Regions from separate parts of the Homo sapiens genome. Here region 2 is linked to region 1. The links are contacts of gene promoters, found by promoter capture Hi-C in human tissues and cell types (Jung and others, 2019). All regions are on one chromosome and are shown on one strand. The core of a region is centred on a gene start or on the middle of the fragment in contact, and the rest is flanking DNA. Distances in the headings are between cores, read along the strand shown. Region 1 holds the start of EXOC3L4 (exocyst complex component 3 like 4). Region 2 has its middle 32 kb from the start of TNFAIP2.

The links. The method cuts DNA at HindIII sites, captures the fragments that hold promoters and counts their contacts. A contact is called where the count stands out against the background at its distance.
Region 2: a contact is called between a fragment that was not itself captured here and the fragment with the promoter of EXOC3L4 in region 1, in 1 of the 25 tissues and cell types used here (IMR-90 fibroblasts).

What each region holds. Positions count from the first base shown.
Region 1 is chr14:103,090,234-103,096,005 of GRCh38, forward strand. It overlaps EXOC3L4 (exocyst complex component 3 like 4), which reads left to right and starts at 4,492. Exons shown (of 12, transcript NM_001077594.2): 1 at 4,492-4,607. RefSeq lists a silencer at 1,098-1,567 and enhancers at 1,708-1,887, 3,361-3,930, 4,501-5,070. The HindIII fragment of the contact is 13,551 bases long and covers 3,171-5,772 here.
Region 2 is chr14:103,152,649-103,158,271 of GRCh38, forward strand. No RefSeq gene overlaps it. Among named protein-coding and RNA genes, the nearest start is that of TNFAIP2, 32 kb to the left of the region's middle. RefSeq lists enhancers at 2,424-2,718, 3,443-4,181, 4,182-4,919. The HindIII fragment of the contact is 5,254 bases long and covers 55-5,308 here.

The DNA.
Region 1 (5,772 bases), core at 3,242-5,741:
TGCTTTGGCCAAGGCTGTCCAGGGCAGAACCAGCCTCCTCCAGGTGGCCTCCCAACCCTCCGTGGGGCCTTCTTGGGGCCAGGGCCGGACCCTGAGGGCCTGCTACCCACTTGCCCCGGGTGTAGGAAAGCACAGCGATGGTGCCTGGGGTGGGCCGCCCCATTCCAGGTTGGATCTCGTTAAATCTTCGTGAAGGTCCCATTTTACACGTGTAGGAACTGAGGTGCAAAGCGAGGTGCTCAAGGCAAGCGGCTACGGAGGGAATTCCTGAGGTCAGGAAGCCACTGGGCTGCCACAGAACCTGCATCAGAGGCTGGTGGAGCAGGCATCTCTTCCTGCCCCATGTGGGGGTCCTGTCCCTCCACTGGGTCCATCGACATTGTCTCTGGACTCTGTTCTACTACAGGAGGGGAGCCCTGCTGCCTGGTTGCAGCTGGCATGGGGGCAGAGCCCCGAGTGTAACCCAGGGCCCCCTCCCCAGGTGTGTCCCCCCAACCTGGCCCTCTGCCCTTGGCCAGCCTGGGCCAGGATGAGGAAGCTTAGGGCCGGGCAGTGGTACACTCCATAAATGTCAGCTGTGCCAAGTCCATGGCCTTTCTGTGGCCCGGGCAGGTGTGCCAGGGGCCCATGAGAGGAGGGAGGCAGGAGACACTGCCCCTTTGTGCTTTCCCGCTGCCTCGCCAGCCTCCAGGACGAAGATGCACTTTTCAGATGCACTTTCTCCCACCGCCTTCCTTCTAAAAATAGCCAACCCCCCAATGCGGGAAAGGTGGGAGGTGAGGTGCGGAAGCTGGCCTGGCAGCCCGCTTCAGTTTTAAACCGCAGGACCCCGTGGGCCCTCCCCGGACTATAGCTCAGGTGAGGGGTGGGGCGGCCCTTCAGTCCTCTCCGTCCTCCTCCAGTCCTTCCCATCGGTCCTGAAGCCAGGGAGGGAGAGGCTTGACCAGGCTGGGGGACATGGGGGTAGTGTTGTGAAAGGGGACAGACATCTCGCAGGATGCCTTGCAGGCACGTGGGATGTGGGGTGCAGGGAGGCCGGCACGTGGGTGGGCGATGACGCCATTTACTGAGATTTGATCCCCACCACACGGCTCCGGGGTGAGAATTATGACATCTGGCTCAACACGGCTGCCCGGGACCCACACAGCCGAGCGGCCGAGCTCGGGCGGAGTCCCAGGGCGCCCACAGCACCCCGCCAGCGCGCCCCGTCCAGCAGGGCAGCTTTTGGGCGGAGGCGACCCCCACCGCAGGTCCCAGGACCCTGCGTGCTCTTGAGCCAGGGGTGGAGAGGCCCGACCGCGGGGGGCTGCCCCACCCCGCCGCCCTTCACCGCGAGCCGGGGCCCAGACCGCCCAGCCACGCCCAGAGCCCGCGGGCGGAGACGCCAGGGGCGGTGCCAGCGAGGTCCCGTCCCCGGTACCCCGTCCCGCCCCCCCACACGCGGTGACCTGGGGACGCCCCGCGGGAGTCGTTCTGCGGCTCCCCCTGGCGTCGGCTGGGGCCACCGCCCGGGCTCCCACCTCAACCCTGCAATATGGGGTTGGGGCAGAGTGGTCTGCTGCCCGCTGCCCGCAGCCGCTTCCGGTTAGGGAGGGAGCCTGGGCCTCTGGGTGCTCACGCTGCGCTTAACGCTGGTCCCGGCAGCAGTGAGGGTGGAAGCGGCCGCCTCTGGCTTCTACACCCCGGGTGTGACAGCCTGGCCTCTCAGTGAGCCCCAGATCAGGCAAGCATTTGGTGGTGGGGGTCCTGCTCCCTGGCCTTCCCTACCTGGGAGCCAGGTCCTCAGCCAAGGTGAACCCATTTGATCCCGACGACAATCCCATTTTCTGGAGGAGTAAACTGGGGCTCAGAGATTGAGGTGCCTCTCCAAGGTCGTGGGGAGCTGGGCTTGCCCTCTGGTGGGTGTCCCTGGCTAGGCCTCTCCCTCCTAACGGCTCCCCACCCGGCCTTCTCCTGACCCCAGACCAACCTCGTGACCCAGGCTTCTTTGAGATAAGGCTGGGGTTTTTCCAAAGGGATTTTACTGAGAAACTTCGGGAAAACATGGACATAGCATGAAAGAAACATTGCAACCTCATGCTGAAAAGCGGGCACAGGCTCAGGTGCCTGTGGAGAGCAGATGGGAGTTGAGGGGACTTCCAGGAGCAGTCCCCAGGCCCTGGGCACCACCAGCTTTTCAGGCACCTGTGTATTGAATGGAGCGACCCATAATTGGAGGTCCCAGGACCCCAACATGCCCTGGGAGCTGGGGGGCGGGTGGGAGAATTAGACCGGGAAGTCTCCAGTCCACCAAGGCCTGGCTGTATGGGAAGACCCAGTCCACAGAGCCAGAGACCTAGGTCGCAGTCCTGGCCTCTCTGGGCACCTGTGTGGCCGAGAGCAGGTCACTGAGCCCTGGGGAGCCAGCCACCTTGGACCCCGGCTGTCTCTGCTCAGTTTTGCTTATTCCCTGTTACCCCTCATCTCTGCCTGTTGGAGACAGGTGGGGTGGGACTCAGGCCAGCAGGTGGGACTGGGCTGGGAGGAAGGGCCTATGGGCTGCTGGGCACCTCTCGGGCTTGAAGTGGGACTCTTAGCACCCCACTTCACAGAGGGAACCCAGGGCTCAGGGTAGTGACTCAAGTGGTTAATTGGAGGGCTTCCTGGAGGAGGTGCTGGCATCTTTGAGTCTAATTTGGCCCCTCTGCAGATGGTGCTGCAGCATCTCAGGCACCTTCCAGTCTGTTATGGGCTGCTTTTCCCCCATAAAATTCGTATGTTGGGCTGGGCGCGGTGGCTCACGCCTGTAATCCCAGCACTTTGGGAGGCCTAGGCAGTCCAATCACCTGAGGTCAGGAGTTCAAGACCAGCCTGGCCAACATGGTGAAACCCCGACTCTACTAAAAATACAAAAATTAGCCGGGTGTGGTGGTGCGTGCCTGTAATCACAGCTACTCAGGAGGCTGAGGCAGGAGAATCACTTGAATCCAGGAGAATCACTTGAATCCAGGAGGCAGAGGTTGCAGTGAGCTGAGATCGCGCCACTGTACTTCAGCCTGGGTGACAGAGAGAGACTCCGTCTCCAAAAAAAAAAAAAATTCGTATGTTGAAGTCCCAATCTTAGAATGTGACCTTATTTGGAAAATTCCTTATAAAAACACGTGACCTTTAAAGAGGTAATAAGTTAAAATTAAGTCATTCGGGTGGACCCCAACCCATATGAAGAGGAAATATGGACACAGACACGAAGTGGGAAGGCCCTGTGTTGACCCAGGAAGAAGGGGGGGCGCTACCCACAGACCCAGAAAACAGCCCCAGGAGAAACCAGCCCCACACATGCCTTGACTGTGGGCCTCTGGCTTCCAGAACTGGGAGAGAATAAACGTCTGTTGTTGAGGCTCAGTCCCTGGTCCTGTCGTGGCAGCCCTAGGACACTGGATGCATGGGGCCGTCCCTGCCCTCAGCCCTAGGATGCTGGTGCACTGGCCTGTCTCTGCCCTCAGCCCTAGGACAGTGGGTGCATGGGGCCGTCCCTGCCCTCAGTCCTAGGATGCTGGTGCACCGGCCTGTCTCTGCCCTCAGCCCTAGGACACTGGGTGCATGGGGCCTTCCCTGCCCTCAGTCCTAGGATGCTGCTGCACGGGGCCACCTCTGCCCTCAGCCAGAGGATGCTGGTGCAGGAGGCTATTTCTGCCCACCTCAGCACCCTGCAGCAGCCCCATCACACACCCTGGTGGCCCCAGCCCAGGTTGGGACAGGCCTGGATCCGTTCTCCTTGGATTTTCCCTGAGTTGTTTCCTAAGACGCTCGCTGCGGAATCCCCCTATGCAGGGGTGAGGCTGCCTCTTCTGGGAAGTGTCAGTGGCCCTCCCTGCGGCACGTTGCCCGCCTGACCCCCTGGTGTGGGGAGTGGGGCCCCGCCTCCACATCTTTGCCCCTGCCCAGGATGCCGTCCCTTCTCACTTCTGAGTGTGTCCTGTCTGTCCCTAGGGCCCCATCCCTTTCTCTAGCTCCTGAAGCCCCCAGGAATGGCATGTGGCTCTCAACTGCTGCCTTTGCTGTCACCGTGAGCTTCCCTGACAGGCAGGGTGCAGGGGTCTCGGGATGAACTCGATGGACTGGCCCAGTGCTAGAGCCTCTGTCCTGGAGGGAGGGGTCCTTCTGGGCTCCGGCACTGTGGGCTGAGTGTCCCCCGAGGCCAGCGCCTGCTTCCGCTGGCCTCTGAGCAAAGGAGAGGTTGGTGGTGTTTTGGGTGGCAGGCAGCGTCCACCCCCTGCTGCCTCGAGACCCTGAGTGCCGAGCTCCGCAGCCTTCCCCTCCCTTGTTCTCTGACCCTTGGACTGAGCCCTGAGCTGTCTGGAATGGAAAGCTGGAGTGACTGCCTCCGGAACGAAAAGGAAGTGGGAACTTCTCTGAAAGTGAAAGTATGGGGTCCTGGTGGAGGGTAGGGCTGTGGGTGGGGCCGGGTGGGCCTGGCAGGCGCTGACCATGGCTGGGAAGTCCCAGCTGTTGGTCACTCGCTCAGGCTGCTCTAGAGGCCCCATAGCCAGGGCCCGGCTCTGAGGGCCCCACGGGCCAGCTTCTCAGGGGGCTGTGTTCTTCCTGGGCCAAGGCTGCGTGCTCAGCAGGTATGTTCTGGGCAGGTGGAGCAGGAGGGCATGGGGTGCTGTGGGCGGGCTTGAGGACCATTCCGGCTCTGCGTGTGGCCTTCCAGGCCAAGGGCCTCACTCAGAGCCCAGGCCGACCAGGCCAGAGGGCCAGCGCAAATCACAGTGGACACACACACACCCGATACACAGGCAGACACACTCAGGTAGAAAGCACAGATAGACAGACACAGAAGACACCAAGATGGGCATGCAGGCACAGACACAGACTCAGAAGCACTGGCAGACCCTCTGGGGACACTCCAGGGCAGAGTCATGCACATACAGGGAGACACTCTCAGGCCAACACACAGATGTGCAAAACCGACGCCCAGAAAAGTGTGTATATGCCCGCGCGCTCAAGCTCAGGCATCAGATTCACTTTCCTGGTTTCCCCGGGAAAGTGCCGAGTACTAGCCATGGCTGGGGGCTGAGTCAGGCTCACTCCCTGCCTTGCGGGTCTCCTGGTCTCCAGGCTCTGTAACTGTCCCTCCGTCATGGCAGGTGTGCCCAGGGCTGGGATCAGGCCCACAGCAGGAGGTGCCGAACATGGTATGGGCTCAGCTGGTCCGGGAAGGCTTCTTGGGGGAGGAGCCATTTCTGCTGAGCCTTCAATGAGTTGACAACTGAAGAAGGAGGGGCTGAGGTCATTGTAGGCAGAGAGGATGGCCTGTGCAAAGGTGTGGAGGAGAGGTGGGTACTTCTGAGTGATCAGAGTGAGGGAATGAGTTGGGACTGAAGCCAGAGGGGTCATTAGGAGAGGCCTTGAATGCCAAGCTAAGGATGGAGCTGTGCTTCTTCCGAGGGCAGCAGCGGCTCAGGGGGCTTATGCTTTGTTGCTACTGTGAAGGGAAGTCTTTTAAGTGTCTCTTTCTAATAGGCTTTGCTAGGGTATAGGAAAGGTGTTGCTTGTATTTACATAATCAATGCACAAAATTTACTAAACCCTTTTATTAGCTCCAATAATTTTCAGCCTCAGATTTTCTAAGCCAACAATCATATCACCTATGAATAATGACAGTTTAATCTGCTCCTTCCCAGTGTTTACATCTCTTATTTATTTTTCTTTCCTTATTGCCTTAACTAGTTCTTCCAGCCAAATGTTGAGGAGTAAGAATGGTGAGAACAAACATCCTTGTCATTTTCC
Region 2 (5,623 bases), core at 1,432-3,931, 61 kb after region 1:
ATTGCATGTCAGTTATATCTCAATAAAGTTGTTTAAAAATCATAAAACATTAGTTTTTTGGTCCCATCAGATTGTCAAAAAAATAAACAAACAGGGTGGCCGGGCACGGTGGCTCACGCCTGTAATCCCAGCACTTTGGGAGGCCAAGGTGGGCGGATCACGAGATCAGGAGATCGAGACCATCCTGCCTAACACGGTGAAACCCCGTCTCTACTAAAAGTACAAAAAATTAGCCGGGCGTGGTGGCGGGTGCTTGTAGTCCCAGCTACTCGGGAGGCTGAGTCAGGAAAATGGCGTGAACCCGGGAGGCGGAGCTTGCAGTGAGCGGAGTTCGTGCCGCTGCACTCCAGCTTGGGCGACAGAGCGAAACTCCATCTCAAAAAACAACAACAACAAAAAACCAAGCAAGGTAATTGCCTCTAGTCCTGGCAACTTGTAAGGAAGCCAGCTCCCTATCTGTGAAAGAATGAATTGGCATATGGAATTAACTTTTGAACTATTCATTTGAAAAGTGTTTCTGTTCTTTGCGGAAGAAAAATTATATTGCTCGTCCTTCAGCTGTTATAACTAAGATCCTATTAATGCATTTCATTTTTGACTGGGTAAAACCGAATTCCATGGGTTTGCTTTTTGCTTCTCAGGTAACTAATGAATTTTCAGATCCTCTCCTTAAAAATGAAAATGTGCATTAACAAAAAAAAATCTAAGAGAGGGTTAAAGATTTCTCCTTTCCCCTGAAACCGTGGAGGAGAGATATTCCAAATGATAAAGGTTGATCACAGAATTTGATTGGATAAGGTGTGGAATTAAGACCATTTACAAGAGTATAAATCTTGTTTTCCTATAGGAAATTAGAACTTGTGTGAAACTTTGTAACTGTTATCAGCTTTCCAATCTCTTGATTACCATGAACTGTTATTGAAACAGAAGAGCCTTGCAGTGTTTCTAAGGCTTTAGAGTCTGAGGCCATGGTTTTTGAAAATAACTTCAAATAAAAACCTGGAATTCTGGCTGGGGGCGGTGGCTCTCACCTGTAATCACAGCACTTTGGGAGGCCAAGGCGGGTGGATCACCTGAGGTCAGGAGTTTGAGAAACCCTGAACTCCTTTAGTAGAGAAACCCCGTCTCTACTAAAAATACAAAATTAGCCGGGTGTGGTGGCAGACGCCTGTAATCCCAGCTACTCGGGAGGCTGAGACAGGAGAATCGCTTGAACCCGGAAGGCAGAGGCTGCAGTGAGCCAAGATCACACCATGGCACTCCAGCCTGGGCAAGACAGAACAAGATTTTGTCTCAAAACAAACAAACAAACAAACAAATCCTGGGATTCTGCTTGATTGTCTTGATAACCTGCTGCCTTAGTAGCCCTGTTATAATCACATTTCTGGATTCTTAAGCCATACAGGTCCCTGGGAGAGTCCTCAGAAAAACGAGATGGTTTGCATCCCTGCTGAAATGTTTTTACCTTAGTAAAGAGATTTCTTATCCTAGGCTGGGTGCGGTGGCTCACGCCTGTAATCCCAGCACTTTGGGAGGCCGAGGTGGGTGGATCACCTGACGCCGGGAGTTCGAGACCAGCCTGACCAACATGGAGAAACCCCGTCTCTACTAAAAATACAAAATTAGCCAGGCATGGTGGCGCACGCCTGTAATCCCAGCTACTCGGGAGGCTGAGGCAGGAGAATAGCTTGAACCCAGGAGGTTGTGGTGACCCAAGATCATGCCATTGCACCCCAGTCTAGGCAATAAGAGCAAAACACCTTCTCAAAAAAAAAAAAAAAAAAAAAGAGAGAGATTTTGTATCTTAATAAAGAGATATTGAACAGTATCTTTGAGGTAATAATTCTACTTGTAGGGAATGTATGTTATCAGAAATAATAGGACAAACCTTTGTCATTATTCATACAAGGATTCTCGTTGTAGGGAAAACTAGAAACTCCCAAACTATCCAGCAAGAAGGAAAGAGGAAAACAGTTATACTACACAATGCAGTGTGGCCATTCACACAAGGAGGCAGATCTGTTTCCACTGATCTGGAAAAGCATCCGTGACATGACATTAGTGAAAAATGCAAATTTGTAGAACAGTATCTGTGCAGAATGGCTGTGCTAATATAGATGCGTTGGCACCAAAATGTTCAAGGGGAAGGGGAAGGTGGCAGGATCCAATCTGTACTTCACGTAATCCTTTAAAATGTGTGGGATGGTGGGTGAGTCTTCTCTGTATAGATTTTTGCAAACAAGATGGTATTTTGCATAAATATAGTGGGGAAAGGCATTTAAGACATATTCATGCCTGTAGTGCTTGAGTAATTTAAAATTTCTTATTTTGATATTTAATTTGAACATTTTCTATAAGAAGTGCTTTTAAAACTAGAAAAAAATTTTTTAAAGTCTATATAATAAATTCCTACGGCTTTACTTAAATAAGGGTGCCTAGGATTTTTCTTGAGTATGAACCTGTCACATGGCTGGTTGTGTGCTGAGGCCAGAGGGTGGGACCTTCCCTGAGGGCCGGGCTGGGACATCTCCCCACGAGGTTGGTCAGTCCTTCTGCCAGCTCATCCATGAAGAGTTCAACCCAGGTCAGGGCCGGGCCCTGGCAGCCTGGAGGCTGAGCCTGGCAGGCCCTTCCCTTTTCAAAGGCCAGCACTGTCAGGCACTTTGGTCCAGACTCCAGGCCTGCAGAGGCACAGAGCGCACCAAGGGGGGCAGTGGGAGGGGCCAGTGTGCGACCCCCAGGACAGGCTGGGACCCCAGGACAGGCTCGGACCCCAGGACAGGCTGGGACCCCAGGACAGCCTCAGACCCCAGGACAGGCTCGGACCCCAGGACAGGCCGGGACCCCAGGACAAGCTCGGACCCCAGGACAGGCCGGGACCCCAGGACAGGCTCGGACCCCAGGACAGGCCGGGACCCCAGGACAGGCTGGGACCCCAGGACAGGCTCGGACCCCAGGACAGGCTGGGACCCCAGGACAGGCTCGGACCCCAGGACAGGCTGGGACCCCAGGACAGGCTCGGACCTCAGGACAGGCTGGGACCCCAGGACAGGCTCGGACCCCAAGACAGGCTCGGACCCCAAGACAGGCTGGGCTCAGGCTTCACTTGTCCTGTGTCCTCTGGGTTGCTCTGTTGTTCCACCATCCCTGATCCCACAGTAAAATCCTGTCACCCTCACTGCCTGGTTTCTGCCCCTGTTGGGGGTGAATGAGCAGCTTGTCCTGGGTTTGGGGCAGAGAGGCCTGAAGGAGGAGCCTGGGCTGGGGGCAGCCATGCTCATTTGGGGACAGGGCAGGCTTGGTCAGCAGAGGGGCTCCCCCCCCGGAAGGCAGCTGATTCTCAGGGTTGGGCAGAGTCTGGAACTTCAAGGGCAGGACCCATGTCCTAGGACCAACTCTGTCCACCCTCCCACATCCTCCCGTTGCCATGACCTTGGCCCCATCTCCGTCAAATAGCCTGGCCCTCATACGTGCAGGAGCCCTGGGGTCCTTCCCGAGCCCAAACATTTTTGCAGTGAAGGGCCCTGCCTAGCTTCACCCCATGCAGGCCTGGGCAGGGGCAACTCTGTCAGGTGCCCTCGGCCCCCAGGTCTTTCCCCTGAAAGCAGCGAGCATCTCAGTCGCTCCCACTGCATGGGTGGGTGGAGTTCAGAAGAGTGGGAGAGGAAGGGGAATGCTTACTTTTTCCAAAGCGATCCAAGGATTGTTCTGGAATTGTTTGGCAAGGGCTGTGTGGCCATGTGTTTTTCTAGATTCACTTAAAGAAAAAACAGTGTTGGGGTCCCCAAGGAAATAGGGCATCCAGGCTGCAAGGACAAAAGCCAGGTGGGCTGAGGGGCCGGCGGGGCCAAATCTGTCACGAGGAAGGGGAAACTGAGGCCTGGCCTTGCGGGCCCAGGACCTACCCTGCCCCTTTGCACTGAAGGGAGGGAAGGTCTGAGTCCCCGGGAAGCAGAACTGGGGCCAGCTGGGCAGGGGACAGAAGCTGGGTCACCCCTGGGATACCCAAGCAGAGTGACACAGCCCCTGGGACGGACTTGGCTGGGTCTCTCGTCGGCTCTTTTCTCTCCTGTAAGACGAGAACATGGAAAATCCTTCCCCAGGAGCGGGACGGCCCAGCACACTCCCCCATAGCTGGTGGCAACGCCCTGGAAGTCCCGGCTGTCACGGCTCTGCCTGCCCCTTTCAGATGCTGTCTCAATGACATGTGTCCAGGTCGAGCCTGTTCACCAAGCTTCAGCCCTCCCATCCCTCACCCTGGGGACCAAGAGACAGCTCCAGACTAGCCCAGTCTCTCCCGAGTGCTCAGGTGCTTCCCAGCTTCCTCCAAAGGCCAGCAGTCCCAGCGAAGTCCTGGGAAAGGCAGGACAGCCTCAGGCAGCTCCAGCGAAGGCTGTGACCACTACAGGGAGCACCTCTGCCAGGTGGTGGCCCCAAGGACTGCCCAGGACTGTGGGACACTCAGCTTCCCAGGGGGAGAGGCCCCGGCCCACTGTGGGCAGCACAAACTGGCTGTAGAGGAAGCTCTGGGGGCTATGGGAGCCCCTACCCCAGGGCACGCGGGGACTCAGCCAGGTCCAGGCCTTGCGGGAGGCTCTCTGGGGAGTTGCAGAGGCGCAGTTTCCCTTCCGCGGAGCTGCTTTCTCACCCTAGTGGTGGGACAAGCCCTCTCCCGGGTCCATCCCTTCCCTGCCCCTTCACCCAGGTCCTGAGTACTTCTTCTGAGCCACGGGTGGGTGATTTATGACCCACTTCTCACTACAGAGGAGGCGGGGCAGCTCGCTAACACCAAGCAATGCAAAAAGTCAGTGCGAGGGAAACACAGACTCCAACGTTTTTCACCAAAGTGCTGGTTGAAACACTTTTGAAATCTGGGAAGTCTTGTAATCATGTCAACATATAACCTTCTTTTTAAAAAGCACGAGTTTAGTGGCATGGGCCTGTGGTCCCAGCTACTCAGGAGGCCGAGGTGGGAGGATCGCTTGAGCCTTGGAGCTTGAGGCTGCAGTGAGCCACAGTCGCAGCACTGCTCTCCAGCCTGGGTGACAGAGCGAGACCCTGTCTCTGAAAAAAATTTAAAAACTTGGAGCTTCCGTCGGACGATCCCCTCAGATCAAGGCACCGAGTTACTTTTTCCAAGTTACTTGGAAAGATTGGCCCTTTGGGTCTTGCATGAGAACTCCATTAGATGAGACCCAAGCAGCATCAAGCCTAGGGTTAACTTTCCCTACTCCTGAGCTGAGACCCCTCTGAGGACCCTTACCAATGCCAGGTGAAGCACGAGTTCTTCCACTCTGGCTGATGGGAACAGGCAACTATTCCCAGCCTTGGGTGAGCACCAGACACTGCGACTTCTAATCCTTTGCGGTGGTTCTTTCCCCAGGCTCAGGCAGGTTCCCCTTACGCACGTACTGATCGGTTCTCGGCTGAACACTCGTGGGAACCTTCTGCAGACCTCCGGCTCCCTCTGTGCAGCGCTCTGTCCTCCTGCTCCGCCCTGTGGATCCTGCCACCTAGGCTTGCCTGGACTCCCAGCTGGCTGTGCTCCGCTCAGGAGGAGGCTGGTCCCGTCTCCTTACCCCATGGCCTGGAGACTCTCCACGCGGCTAGCCGGGCATCTCAG